Regions from separate parts of the Homo sapiens genome. Here regions 1 and 2 are each linked to region 3. Evidence: promoter capture Hi-C in 16 types of primary human blood cells and fetal thymus (Javierre and others, 2016). All regions are on one chromosome and are shown on one strand. The core of a region is centred on a gene start or on the middle of the fragment in contact, and the rest is flanking DNA. Distances in the headings are between cores, read along the strand shown.

What was found. The method cuts DNA at HindIII sites, captures the fragments that hold promoters and counts their contacts. A CHiCAGO score of 5 or more calls a contact.
Region 1: a contact is called between a fragment that was not itself captured here and the fragment with the promoter of AOAH in region 3, in 3 of 17 cell types (naive CD8 T cells, total CD8 T cells and naive CD4 T cells). The highest score is 7.4, in naive CD8 T cells.
Region 2: a contact is called between a fragment that was not itself captured here and the fragment with the promoter of AOAH in region 3, in 6 of 17 cell types (M1 macrophages, non-activated CD4 T cells, naive CD8 T cells and 3 more). The highest score is 6.9, in M1 macrophages.

What each region holds. Positions count from the first base shown.
Region 1 is chr7:37,172,969-37,177,293 of GRCh38, reverse strand. The region is part of intron 13 of ELMO1 (engulfment and cell motility 1); the gene reads left to right. Among named protein-coding and RNA genes, the nearest start is that of ELMO1-AS1, 180 kb to the right of the region's middle. The HindIII fragment of the contact is 1,734 bases long and covers 1,049-2,782 here.
Region 2 is chr7:37,194,183-37,199,051 of GRCh38, reverse strand. The region is part of intron 13 of ELMO1 (engulfment and cell motility 1); the gene reads left to right. Among named protein-coding and RNA genes, the nearest start is that of ELMO1-AS1, 200 kb to the right of the region's middle. RefSeq lists an enhancer at 1-33. The HindIII fragment of the contact is 745 bases long and covers 2,432-3,176 here.
Region 3 is chr7:36,723,244-36,727,472 of GRCh38, reverse strand. It overlaps AOAH (acyloxyacyl hydrolase), which reads left to right and starts at 2,979. Exons shown (of 21, transcript NM_001637.4): 1 at 2,979-3,451. The coding sequence starts at 3,325. The HindIII fragment of the contact is 12,094 bases long and covers 1-4,229 here.

The DNA.
Region 1 (4,325 bases), core at 666-3,165, 450 kb before region 3:
ATGTGTTTGGCAACCATTGACACAGAGTGGAGTATCATGAGTTTTACAAGCCACTCATAGCAGAAAGTTTTCTTGACAGGGCACAGAAAATGAAATCTCAGATTTGCTTTATCTGACAATCTTCTGCTAGAACATGCTATGTTTAGAGTTCTCATTCTGAGAGTGTCTAATTGGAAAGGTGGTCTTCTTTAATTCCTTGAAGCTCTTAATTTCAGTTCCACTGGAAACTCTTCTTCCCACCTTTTATCTAGTTTGTAACATACAATGTCCATTTCTGCTGGGTCACTTTTCCCACTGGAAGATACATCTACAGTCCTTCCTAAGCATTTTTAATGGCTACACCATATCCGTACTTAGGCATTGAGCTGTGTCTTCCATATTGGTCTATGCCAGTATTGTCTGACGTTGATTATATAGTCGTCTAAAAGCTATAACTGTGTTTTCCTTTTCCCTTCTTTACTTTGTCTTCTAACTTTTGTTTACTGCAACCAATATCAGCATAAAAGTAATAGAGAAATAAAAGAAAATGTGTTCCATGTTTCCATGACAGTGCATCCGTTAGTTATTTTTGTTTCCTGTTTGCTTCCAGTTTTTGGTCATTTTGTAAATGGTCAAATAATTGTAATAGGAGGGAAAAGATTATTCTATGTTTTACTTGAAGCATTATCTCACAAGCACTTTTTCATATTGTTATACCACAATTACTTTTATGGCTGTTCATTCCATTGGGTTGATGCATTGTATATATTTTGATATTTTTAAGTACTGGACATTCAATGTTCTAGTATTTTTGTAAGCAATATTATATTGTACATTTTTATTCTTACAGCTTTCTGTTTCCTTTTCAGTTATCTCACTGCGATAGACCAAAATATTTGGAGACTTTCATGGTCGTTAGGCTATATGTTGCTTTTTGTTTTGTTTTATTTGTGACTATTTTTAGCACATTGTCATTTATAAGAAAGTACTTTGTCAATGCATAGGGAGGAGGTGACAATAAGGAAGCAGTCCTTTTCTTTGAAAGTATTGTTAGGATTCTGAGGAAGCTTTTCTAGGAAATGACAGTGAAAGTATAACAGTCGATGAGTCTTTGGGGAGCTTGGGAAATTGTTGAGATGTTAAAGGTCATTCTGAAATTAATTTGCCTAGCCCATTGTAGGCTATACTGAAATTATTATCTCTAGTAAATGACAGCATATTCTCAGCTATATCCAAAGACTGTTGTAGAACCAGCCACGATCTCCTGTATATCATTCCAAACATCACTTGAAAGTTCTTTCTTGTGTCTAATCTGAATCCTATGCTGCTGTGAAAATCATTTTCAGGTATTGCAGTTCAACTTGGAACTAAAAGTAACTATGTTCTTATACACTGAGAACAGAGACACTGTCCATTCTAAAGTGATCATGAGTCGTTTGTTGGTTTTGTTTTGTTTTGTTTTTTCTTTGAGACAGAATCTCACTCTGTCGCCCAGGCTGGAGTGCAGTGGTACAATCTCGGCTCACTGCAACCTCCGCCTCCTGGGTTCAAGTGATTCTGGTGCCTCAGCCTCCCGAGTAGCTGGGATTACAGGCGTGCACCACCACGCCCAGCTAATTTTTTGTATGTTTAGTAGAGACAAGGTTTCACCATGTTTCCCAGGCTGGTCTCGAACTCCTGAGCTCAGGCAATCTGCCTGCCTTGGCCTCCCAAAGTGCTAGGATTACAGGCATGAGCCACAGTGCCCAGCCTGTTGGGTTTTGAGTTGGGCATGGGGAAGAGTGAAAGCCAAGTGTCCCCAGAGGGTTAAGAAACCTGTTGGAAGGTGACCCTGGGTGTAACTCCATGGTGGGCCGCCCGTCTCAACTGCTGTTTGGTTTCAGCTGTCCTAAGGGGAGGACTGACTCTGCAGCCTGACAATACTTTCTGTGATGTGTTACTATTGGCATGCCGTTCCAACTGGACATTGAAAATTTGCAGACAAATGTAGAGATTTGGTAGTGACTAATTTGCATTGCACAAGGTGTTGGTAGTAGTGAACAGCTTGCTATGAAGCCCGTATTCAAAATTTGGAAGGAACAAACACTATGGATATGCTCATCTCACCAAACTACCCAACCTATTTTTCTTTCACTCCTTTTCTTTGTCTCCTTATTATTCTGCTGATCATTTTCTCTTTGCAGTGTTTCAAATGCTGTTTCTCTTTTCTTTTCCCGCCTTCCTTTTTTCCCTTCCACTCCTTTTTTCTATATCACCTTTCTCTCTGCCCCCTCCACTTTATCTCGGGTCCCACTTCGCCATTGATTTTTTACCATTCTTAACCCCTTTCCTCTTTTATTGAGAAAATAGGCTTTAAATTTGGAGTGTGCTAAGAAAATGTCGCTTTATGCTGAAAAACTGCAGGATTCAGGGACTGCATTTGTGGTGTGGCTTATTGATAGAAGAGAGGCTATGAAAGCTAGTGCTTACAAGTGATTTAAAGGTGACGGCTCAGTGTCTCAGGTGGACGTGATTATATTGTGGGACAGCTGGGTTCCATTTTAGCTTGATATTGACCTCTCCTTGCCATGTAATTAACAGTGTGCCAGCCACAGATCATAAAGTGAGTGCCGTTCAATGAATAACATCATGTACTGGTGCCTGGAGTTTGTTGTACCCATGGGACCTAGTGGGCATGGGGCATGCCTGGATATCTAGCCAGGAGTGACACTTAAGCTCAATTGCTGGATGCTGGATTACAAGAGCTCTGACATGCATCCTCAGATAGCCCGCTCGATACAGATGGCTGATGAGTTCTGAAGCTTCATGCTGATGTGTCCAGGAGCCCAGGGGCAAACTGACCCTTTCCTCTTTAGGCACAATGCCTGCGTCGGCTGTTTAGAAATCATCAGAAAACATTTTAATCTTAGGGGGCTCGATTTTTGGTGATTAAACTAGACCCCTAAATAGAGTTCTCTAAACCCCAAACACAATGAACAGAGATTCATAGTGAAGTAGGTTTGCCTCCGTGAATGAGTGTTGCAGTGAATCTCGTCCTTTTCTTGGCTTTGGTGTTGTGTAGTGATTAACAAAAACGTGAGATGACCGCTGGGCATCTTTATAGGAAAAAGGAAGTGGGAGGGTATTAAGCATAGAATGGATGCTCTCATTTGCTTGAGATGTGTAAAATAAGTTGGGGTAGAATGGGGAAGGGCAGAAGACTAAAGATTTAAGCCCCCCAGTCATGGTTTCATTTAATACGTTAAGGAATTTGATGAGGTAATTGGGCAGATTCAAGGCAAAGAGAGAGCAGGGCTGAGTATCAGTGATCTTCAGATAATCACTAAGGTATTATTCAGGACACAAGCCAGATGACGTTAGCTTCACCAGAAGATGGGCTGATGTGGCCATGGATTCAGTTAGTAATTCTTGGAATTGCTGGGGCTTGGGGCAGCCACCACCATGTGGTTTATCTTTGTCTAACCTCACTAAAGCCAGCCGAGCAGACACTGTCTGTTTGGGGCTTTCAGGTTTGGGGTGGTGGTTCTCAGTAGAGGCTGAAGAGGAAAGAGAGACCTTTTAAAAAGAAAATATTTCTTTTCTCTTCTCTATATAAGTTTTGAGCTTAACAGGCTTTGATCAAGAAGAATTTCACCTTGGGTTTCTGTTTTGAGTTACATCTCCTCAAGACGCTGCCATGGGGCTGGAGGAGAAGGTCAGAGAGAGGGAAAACTTGGACTGTGCTGAAACCCCTTTAGGCTCACTTATTTAGTTATTCACTCAGAAACAGCAGCATGGACTAGGAGCTATCTGTGCTTTTGCAATGTAGCTTCACTACTTAATTTGAAATAAATTCCCTTATAATAGGTCCAATGTATAATCCGAGGCAGATTTGAAATAACATTCAAAGAGTTTTTGGCCATCTACTCCATTGCTTCCTTCCATCAGTGGGGATCTCTGTGACGTGGCTTGTACTCCCTCAATGGTCCTTTTTCTTGGAACCTCACATGGTCACTTTGGGCCAGAAGATGGTATAGCATGAATAAGAAGAGGTGGCCTGCAGTCCTAGGTGCTGGTCCATACTGGCCAGGACAGAGAATACAGGATATCACATAGTCTCTAAATACAATTTCAAAGAGTGCATCTCTAGAGTTAAGTGAGTTTGCCTTAAATTCTGTGCAGTTGCAGATGATGTAATCCATTTATAAACATTTTATTAGGCAGATTAAATTAAGATACAGGAAATGCTATTTCACATTTCGTTGAAGAGGAAAGTCAAGTCTTGTGAACGTTGTTTACTATAACAGAAGGTTCTTACATATCCATCTCAACTCAATTTTCTTATTGTTTCAGGATCCGAGTTCCCT
Region 2 (4,869 bases), core at 1,555-4,054, 470 kb before region 3:
CCACTAGGGGGCGCGCCTATCAAAGGCATGTGTGTGAGAAACTCTGCAGGCTGATGGCACTTCAATAAAGAGCAGCTCTGATGTGTTCATGAAGTGGAGGACTTAGTGGGGACTCTTCTAAGTGGGTAAGTTTAGCAGGTTCAGAAAAATGCTTTTCCAGCCAGAATCTTCCTCCTTCCCCCTTTTAGCTCAAAATCTCCAATAACTCTGTCCCCTGGCTGTGGCGGAAGGAGAGGCAACATATTAAACAGTGTCAATCCTTCGTCCCTGAGTGTATTGTGCAAACTTCCTTGGCATCCTTTCTTTGCACATGGCGCTTTGGAGCAAAAGGGCACCATCCAGCAGGTGCAAGGGTGACACATAGGGAACCAAGGGCAAAGAAACGTCAGGGTCTCGTAATGTATAAGCAAGTCAATTGTGTTTGAGGCTAATAAAACATAGCTTTTACGAGTGCAGCCTTTGGTGCCAGACTGCCTGGTTTTGCATCCCAGCTTCATTGCTCATTAGCTGTGTGATCTTGAACAATTTACCTAAGTGTTTCTTGCCTCATTAGTGAGTTGGATATAGTCGTATCTCCCACCCAGGCTTGTTATGGACATTAATGAGTTAATTGATGTTAAGTTCTGAGAAGCCTTGGCATGGAGCCAGTTTTAGTAAGTTTTTACAATTGATGATTGTCATTTGGATCTGATGGTGGAAATGAGTCTGCAGAATGCATTTACAGTAACCCAGATGACTGGGGACATTCTTCATTTGACTATAACCAGCTGGGTCTGAGAGTAGAAATACATGGCTTCAAAAACAGTTAATTGTCAGGAGTGGCATATCCCAAAGTCCATGAATTCTAGAGAATTTCGTAAGAGTGCTTAGCAGTGCAGGACTTTTATACCCCTCAAAGAGCCTCTTTAGTGAAGGAAGCGGTGGATTTTTTGCTCTGTATTTTTGCTACTCAGGAATTAGCATGTAGGCACATGGCCGAGGATGTCCTTATGCTGCCTGCTCTTGTGCAGATTTTCAAAAGCAGATAAGACTCAAAACCACAACATATATTAAATCAATATTACTGTCCATGACAGGAAGCATTTTTCAATTGGATGACTCCATCCACGATACCCTTTGGAGAGTGCCTTGGACCTAGGCTGGACAGTGCTAGGACAGAGGACCACCAGAGTCTGGCAGGGCTGAGTGGTGATGGGGTCCTGGTACCTGGGAAAGGTAGTTATAGGCATCCAGCACCTCTTCCTCTGATGATTTTCTGTAGGTGCTTGTACTCGTGATTTTGCCTCTAGTAGGATCATATCAAAGCACCCCTGAGAATCATGCTGGTTATTCTGGGGTGCAGGCAAGAGAGGGAAGGAATGACCAGTTAAGAGTCCTGTGATCCAGTTACCTGCTTCCCATTGACCTGCTTTTGATGGCCATCAATCAGCTCCACGCAAAGCTAGCATGCCTTCTATCTTTATCCTTTCTCCTGAGACAGTGTGCTGTTGTGGTACTTTTTATTTTGTTTTCCATTTTTTCAAGTGGTGACTATTTGTCACAGTGCCCTTCCTACCTCTGAATTCAGTGTGATGTGACCTCGGGAGAGGAGGTGTGAGCACGACGTCCAGACTCGGACATGTCTGTTTCACGTCTGCCGGGAAGTAATTTTTATGCTGGGAGCTGGCTTCATGGCGTGGGATTCTAATTCTGGGGATGGCATTTTGTATGTGTAGGAAGACTGTCAAAACCTTTCCAATGGGAAGGGACAAGAACCAATTTGAGAATCACATGGTTACATAAGAACTGGCCCTGTGCGGGCATCTCTGCATACTTCCTGCACTTGTTCATTCTGAAGACGAGAGAAAGAGGAGCAGGAAGAATCTTCCATGAACTCTGCAAACCTACAAACTTTCCAATGAGAAGTGGTGCACACTCCCGAGATGGTGCTTGGGACAACATGGTTAAAAGGGTAAGGGGTATTTATTAACCCTTTGCTTTCTTGTTATTCCTGTCCCTCCTCTTTAAATGTTTACATTACCAAACTGGCTAGACTGCTGAGAATCTATCATTTTTAGGTTGCCTGCTAGGGTTTCTACTGGTCTTATCCCAGTAAATAGCTGCAGAAAATAGCTGCAGTGGCCACACCCAGCAGCAGTAGTGTCTAGGGGACTCTTTGGGACCTGAGCCAGAAAGTTCCCATATGCAGTATCTCATTCTGTCTCCACAAGACACAAGACACAAGGATTATTATGTCTATTTTAGAGACGAATAAAAAGAGGCTTACAGCTTCAGAAGATTTGAAACCTGCCCACAATAGCTGCAGTGTTTCAGCAGCACAAGGAGACATATGCAGACTTAATTTTTGTTTTCAAGTTGTTTAGTCGCAGGTTCAGACACTCATGGGAGCAAGGCAGTGAAATAGATGAAAGTAGCAGATCTTAGTGAAGCTTTATTTCTAGCCTCCCATGCCAAGGACACCCCCCACTCCCTTGGAGTCCTTGAGAAAGCCACCAAATGCTTGTCTCACTGTGGCCTTTCCACACTCAGGATGGTATTCCCACTAATGAAGACCACACACCAACTATCCACTTGCTGCTTCTTAAGGGAACATGCACAGAGCATCGTCCTTCCTGAATCTCAAGCTAAACCCAGCAGGAGCAAGGCCACGTTTCTATCTGGGGGTAGAAAGCAAAATTGTGCTTCCAGTTTTCCAGGGATGCTATAAATCCTTCGCAAATGCTCACAGCAAGCAAGTGGCAGGGCCAGTGTTTGGCCCCTTTCACCCTGACGCCAGTCCTCCCCCACCTCAGCCTCGAGGCTGTGCTGTCTTGCTATTTAAGGAAAAGGGAACATGCTGTCTACAAGGTCTCAGTCGCTCTTTACATTCAATTCAGGTAAATCCAAGAGGCCTTGTCTCCATTCTCAGCTTATTGAGCCTCTGCCTGCCTTCTTGATGTTGTTCATTTGTTGATGACCTTGCTTCATAACCAGGGCAAAGCAGTGAGGGAAAGCAAGTATTTTCATGACAGGTCCTGAGTGCTCATCTTCCTGCTTCATGATAACCCAGAAATCGGCCTTCACTTTTTGCCTTCTATTGTTCATAGATGGAGCCTGAAGTTAGCAGATTTGAATTTGGTTCTCTCCATCCCCCCAGCCCTTTAATATATTTATCTGTGATGTCATATACTAAAGCTTTTCCTTGTTTCTTGAAGGGTTCTCCCTCATTCCCACTGCAGCCTTCCCTGTGACTTATGAGCATTAGGGCAAAGGGAAAGGGCTGGAAAATGGAGACCAGGAAGAGGGAGGCCTCTGCAGTACAGCTTTTAAAGTTCAGGGGCATCTACTGGAGGTGGTCCGTCTGGGACCAGGTCTGTTAGGAGAAGAGCCACGCCAGCTTTTTCGGAGAGGAAAGCTCTGGGAGGAGGTACAGTTCTTCCTCACTTTGGGAAAGCATCACAGATTCCTGCAACTGCTGCTCAGTGCAGGGAGCCCCGCCTCCAGCCAGCTGGGCATGGCTGGGCATCCAAACAGGCATCCAAGGTGTGAGACAGGGGCCTGTGGATTTCTTCCATCTATCTGAGTGGCTCACTGTAGAATGGCGTCCCATCGGTCACCTGTAGAGCACTTTGATAGTAACGGATCATGCCAGGCAATAGGGTCATGTTGGAGTTTAATCTAGACTAAAAATAAGAGACTAATGTGTTGATTCATTTGTTCGTGCAACCAACATTTATGAGCATTTATGATATTTAAGGCAGTGTGCGGACAGGCCTCTCTCTAGTCACAAAGATGAATCGGAGAAGCCAAGGCCTTCATGGAATTGATTGTTGAGTGAACTCCTTATCACTCTGGACCTCATGTGTGCTGTTCTCTCTCCTGGCACTCTCATCCCCTGTCCTCTACAATTCTCAGTTCAGAACTGAGTGTGTTGTATTCTTAGACTAGACACAGGGAGCCTGCTGGGAGCTCTCCCAGTCCAGGTCCTACCCCCGTTTCAGCACGTAGTTTGTACTTGCTTATTAGCCTGATGTCCCACCAGAGGGATAGGTCCTTGTCTACTTAGCACACCTTTGCATCTCTTGCACCCAGCACAGTTCCTGCCACTGGATAGGCATATGGTAAGTGTGTGTTGAATGAATGAATGAATAGATCAATTAAGGATTCTACCGTTCAAGAAAGGAGACACCTTTACTTATAGGTAGAAGTTGATATATGCTATGAGAATCATACAAATAGACTATAAAGTGTTTCTGAAATTCCAAAAATGGATAAGGAGAATTTATTTGAGGACTCCATGAGATTTTACAGTGGAGAGGACGCTGAAGATGAACCTTAAAGAATAGGGAGCATTTGGACATGAGTGAGCTGGGGAGGAGGAGGAGCGTGGGTGACCAACAAGGAGTGGAAAGTGGAAGAATGTGAAGTTTCCTTCAATTTCTGCTCCTTTGAGGCTGGGCCATAAAATATTATGTGCTGCGGTGTTTGGATGATATTTGATAATTTGTAAGTTAAGAAATAATGCAGTTAAAGCTGAGGATTTCACTTCGGTGGTAGTAAAAAGATGGCAGGAAGTTGGAAGAGGCTGGAGGTGATATTGGCCGAAACTAGAAATAGAAGGGGAATAGAAAGGGAGAAAACAAATGTGAAAGAAAAGGTGTGGAGCACAGGGCTTGGTAACAGATTGGATATGGGGAGTGTTGCACAGCTTGTGTGGCCGGGAAGCTGGGTTGCTCTTTCTGCAGATAGGAGATGCAGCTTTGGGAAGGGGCTGGTTTGTTCCATTTAGGATAAAGGACATTTGAATTACTGTCAGGACTTTTCAGCTGGAGATAGCCAGAAGGCCAATGGAAATACAAATACCTAGCACAAGTTAACATTTGCTTGAGA
Region 3 (4,229 bases), core at 1,730-4,229:
GGTAGATGGGAACTGAGGACTGCTGTACACAGTCCTGGGCAGCCAGGAGTAACAGGGCAGCATGGACCTGGGCCTTAGAGAGAGGAGAAAGTCTAAGACGAGACACGTGTTGGTGACAGTGCCAGCTTTTACAGGATCTCCCATCACCCACCTCTTTTTTTTTTTTTTTTTTTTCTGATTAAGGAACTTGCTGTGGATGAGGTGGTTGAGGCCAATGTGGTCAAAAAATATTCAGGAAGCATATTCATACTGAACAAGCAGACCACAGGTGCAACACTTGGGGATCACAAAGCCTTAGCCTTCCATGGCACAGGGGAAAGCAGTGGTTTGAATCAGAGCTGTTTGAGTGAAATCAGTAACAAAGTGCTTCAGGGAAGAAATCTCATTTTCAAGAGCAGATTTCGAGATGATTCAAAATTGGAACATCTGACAGTGGGGTCCTGCAGGAACATTCTCCAGGGCCTGACTAGTTGTTCTAAACCACAGGTAGGTCCAGGGCCTTTTGGCAAGCTGTGCAAAGATCCCAAGTCATTTGCACTCAGTACTTGATGAGCAAAGGCAGCCCTGTCAGGGGCAATGATACCAGCCAGTGTGAAGGACAACTGTGCAAATGGGAGGGTCCACTCCATCCTGGTGACGGAGAGGGATGTTTTGTTCAGTGGTCTGTGCACACGTGCACTTTGTTCCAGCTTCTGCTGGCGAAATCACTTTCTGATTTCTGCATTCTTCCTTTGATCATGCCCAGTAAGAACTCACCCTCCAAGCATGAAAAATCCTTCCATTACTGAAAACCTATGTGTCAGGTTTTACCATGATATATTCCTACGAAGTAGATAGTCTCACCTCCCTTTTCTAGCTGAGGACTGTCACCTCTGGAAACAGGAAGGGGCTTGCTCAATACTGCACAGCTAAGTCAGCGACTCCCACTGTGACCAGCCCCGAAGCCTGAGCACACTAGAGAGTTTCAGAGCCGACCATCCCTGGGATGGTTGTGAATGGCACTGCCTGGCCCACATACATGCGATGAAGGGCACAAAACTTGCATTTCCGGCATACCAAGAAATCCCTCTCACTCTAAGAGTTTCCAGACCTGCTCGCAGCTATACATTGAGACCAGGAGAGCCTCAAGAGGCCCAAAGCCTGTGTCAAATGCTCTTCCAGAAGCCCTCAGGAGAGTCCTCACCCATTTATGGATTAGACAAACTAGACCACACACTCCTGGAGTGCTGTAGCACAGCTGGAAGGTATTCAATAAATCCTCCCTTTTCCTGTCCTCACCATTTCCCATGTATGACATGATGGCCTACAACTACCATGGGCGTCTTGGAATTCTCTTGAAGCTGGTCTGGGGTGCAGGTTTCATCACACTCCTGCTAGAGTCATAGACAGATGCACTAAGCACTTACTTCTTGCCAGCCATGCTGCTTTGTTGTTTGGATACATCATGTATTCGAGTGCTTCCAGCAGCGCATTGGAGCGGATATTACCATTATCCCAATAGAAATGAGCTACTTGGGAGGCTGAGGTGGGAAGATCACTTGAACCCAGGAGGTCAACACTGCAGTGAGCTGTGATCACACCACTGCACTCCAGCCTGGATGAAAAAGCAAGGCCCTGTCTCAAAAAACAAACAAACAACAACAACAACAACAAAAACAAGACACTGAAGGGGGGAAAGTTACATCACTGGTCTAATATATTACTCAGAATAAACAGTAGACATGAGACGTAAGCATGAGCCTTTCTGTCTTCACAATCTGAGTTCCTAATCAATCAGTCCTTTATTTAGCCTCCCTTGGAAGTCTCTGGAACTTCTCTAGGCCTCACCCCTGTGGTGGTCCTAGTGACCCCAGAGCTCCCCTTAGTCACAGAGTGAAGAACTGAAGCAGCAGCACCTTAGAGTCAGAGGAAGTCACAGGCCCATGGACGCCTAACGATATCCTCAGTATTGGGCTGGAAGTGTAATTAGGGAAACACTCTGACTTGTGCTATCTCTGCAGCAGGTTTGGGAATTGTAGCCCCATCGGTGCTTGTAAGACTAATGACTGCACAAGAAATCTTCCAACCATAAAAACTGGTATTTCCTACATCCTGGAAAGGATGCTACTCTAAAACTTTGCCTGCTACTCCAAATGCTATTTTTTTTAATTGCTAACAATTTAGATAGCTTCTATAATATTTCAAAATTTGTAATAAGCTCCCTCAGAGCCTAAGCAGAGAGAAACAGAATCTCATGACCTCCTACACTTACCTAGACTGTGGTACTTTGGCCCTGTCCTCTTATCTTGACTGAGAATGGCATATGATTTTGTTTTATCTTATTTTAGAGAGAAACATTTAGATTATATGTCTTTTATCTATGATCTGGTTCCGATTTTTTTTTTCCCTCAGAAAGACAGTGTTCAGTTCTATTCTTCAGAGCAGAAAATCAGTCTCTTAACAAATCATCCACAAAATGCACTTCGAAATTCTGGAGAAAAAAAAGATGCATTGTGCACAGCCTAGCAACTGTGAATTGATTAATTCTAACCCATGTTTTTTCTCATTAGGTCTAAAATCCCACCATGCTAACTGCCCATTATTTTCTGTACTGTTTATTTTCTGCACACCAAATAAAAGGCCTTGACCCTTCAAGGAATAACCCAATTTCTCCAGAGGAAAGATATTATTTGACCAGAATATCCTTTTACAACAAAATAAGGATCACAACCTTACCATATAAAGCTGTTGAAAACAAGACTAAGTAAGTTCTGAATGTAACCAATTAGAATTTCTACAATATGTGGGTGCTGCTGATCAAATTGTTAAAGGGTTGTGTGCTTGTGGATTAGTTTTTTTTTTCTTTTTTCTTCTCAGTTTTGGCTTTAGTATCGTTTTGTTTTGTTTTGCAAGAATGAAAGGGGAAGGGCCTCCTAACCAACCCAACAGATCAGTTCCGGCAAGCCTCGAGGCTCACGGGGTTTATGCACACTAACTTCACTGAGCCAGGGAGCACGGAAGTTGTGCCACTGTGCAACTTGGGTTTTCTTTATCCTGCAGTCTTTACCTCAGCAGAACCGCACACCACAGACTCCCTCCAGCTCTTTGTGTGTGGCTCTCTCAGGGTCCAACAAGAGCAAGCTGTGGGTCTGTGAGTGTTTATGTGTGCTTTTATTCACTTCACACTTATTGAAAAGTGTGTATGTGAGAGGGTGGGGTGTGTGTGTCAAAGAGAGTGAGGAAGAGAAGGAGAGAGAGATCAATTGATTCTGCAGCCTCAGCTCCAGCATCCCTCAGTTGGGAGCTTCCAAAGCCGGGTGATCACTTGGGGTGCATAGCTCGGAGATGCAGTCCCCCTGGAAAATCCTTACGGTGGCGCCTCTATTCTTGCTCCTGTCTCTTCAGTCCTCGGCCTCTCCAGCCAACGATGACCAGTCCAGGCCCAGCCTCTCGAATGGGCACACCTGTGTAGGTATGCAAATAAATATTTTTGTATTTTCTATGTAGACATAACAATGGGATCCAGTACTTTGCTTGCGTAATAAATCACATATTTTATTAAATCAAGAATTGTAAGATTCCAGGTAAGGCACCAGTAACCTCACTGACACAGAGAAATGTGGAGTCTAAGAGTAGACATTGACACTACATACATCTATGTGAATAAAAAGCATACTAGTTTAAATTGGGCATAAAACTCTTCCACCTCATTGGCGATTGGAATTTTTTCTTCTTGTATAGGTAACTATTATTTCAGGCTATTTTAGTCTGAAATTTTTACTGCTTTTCATGGGCTTTGACCTCATATAAACACATCTGAGTTTGAATCACTGCCCTCCTCCTACCCTTCTCTCCCATTTCCTACTGGCTGTGGAAACCTGGAGCAATGTACTTAACCCTCTCCATGCTTCTGTGTCCTTATTGGTGAACTGAAGTGAGTGAGACCCATCTCATAGGGATACCATGGAAATTGTGACCATGCATGTAAATCTGTGGCATGTGCACACAGTAAGGACTCAACCATCTTAGCTTCCTTCCGTCTCTCAGAGAATCCAGATTTGGCGATCACCTGGAGACGCTGAGCGTTGATATGGCTTCTTGGCTCATCTGTTAATGAAGTGTTTTATTTCCAAGAGGTTTTTTTTGTTTGTTTTTTTTGGATGAGAGCAGGAAGTAAGGTAAGATCTTTGATATTCACATTGTAGCTCTCATAACATGGGAATTCTCATAATAGTGGTGGCATTTAGATG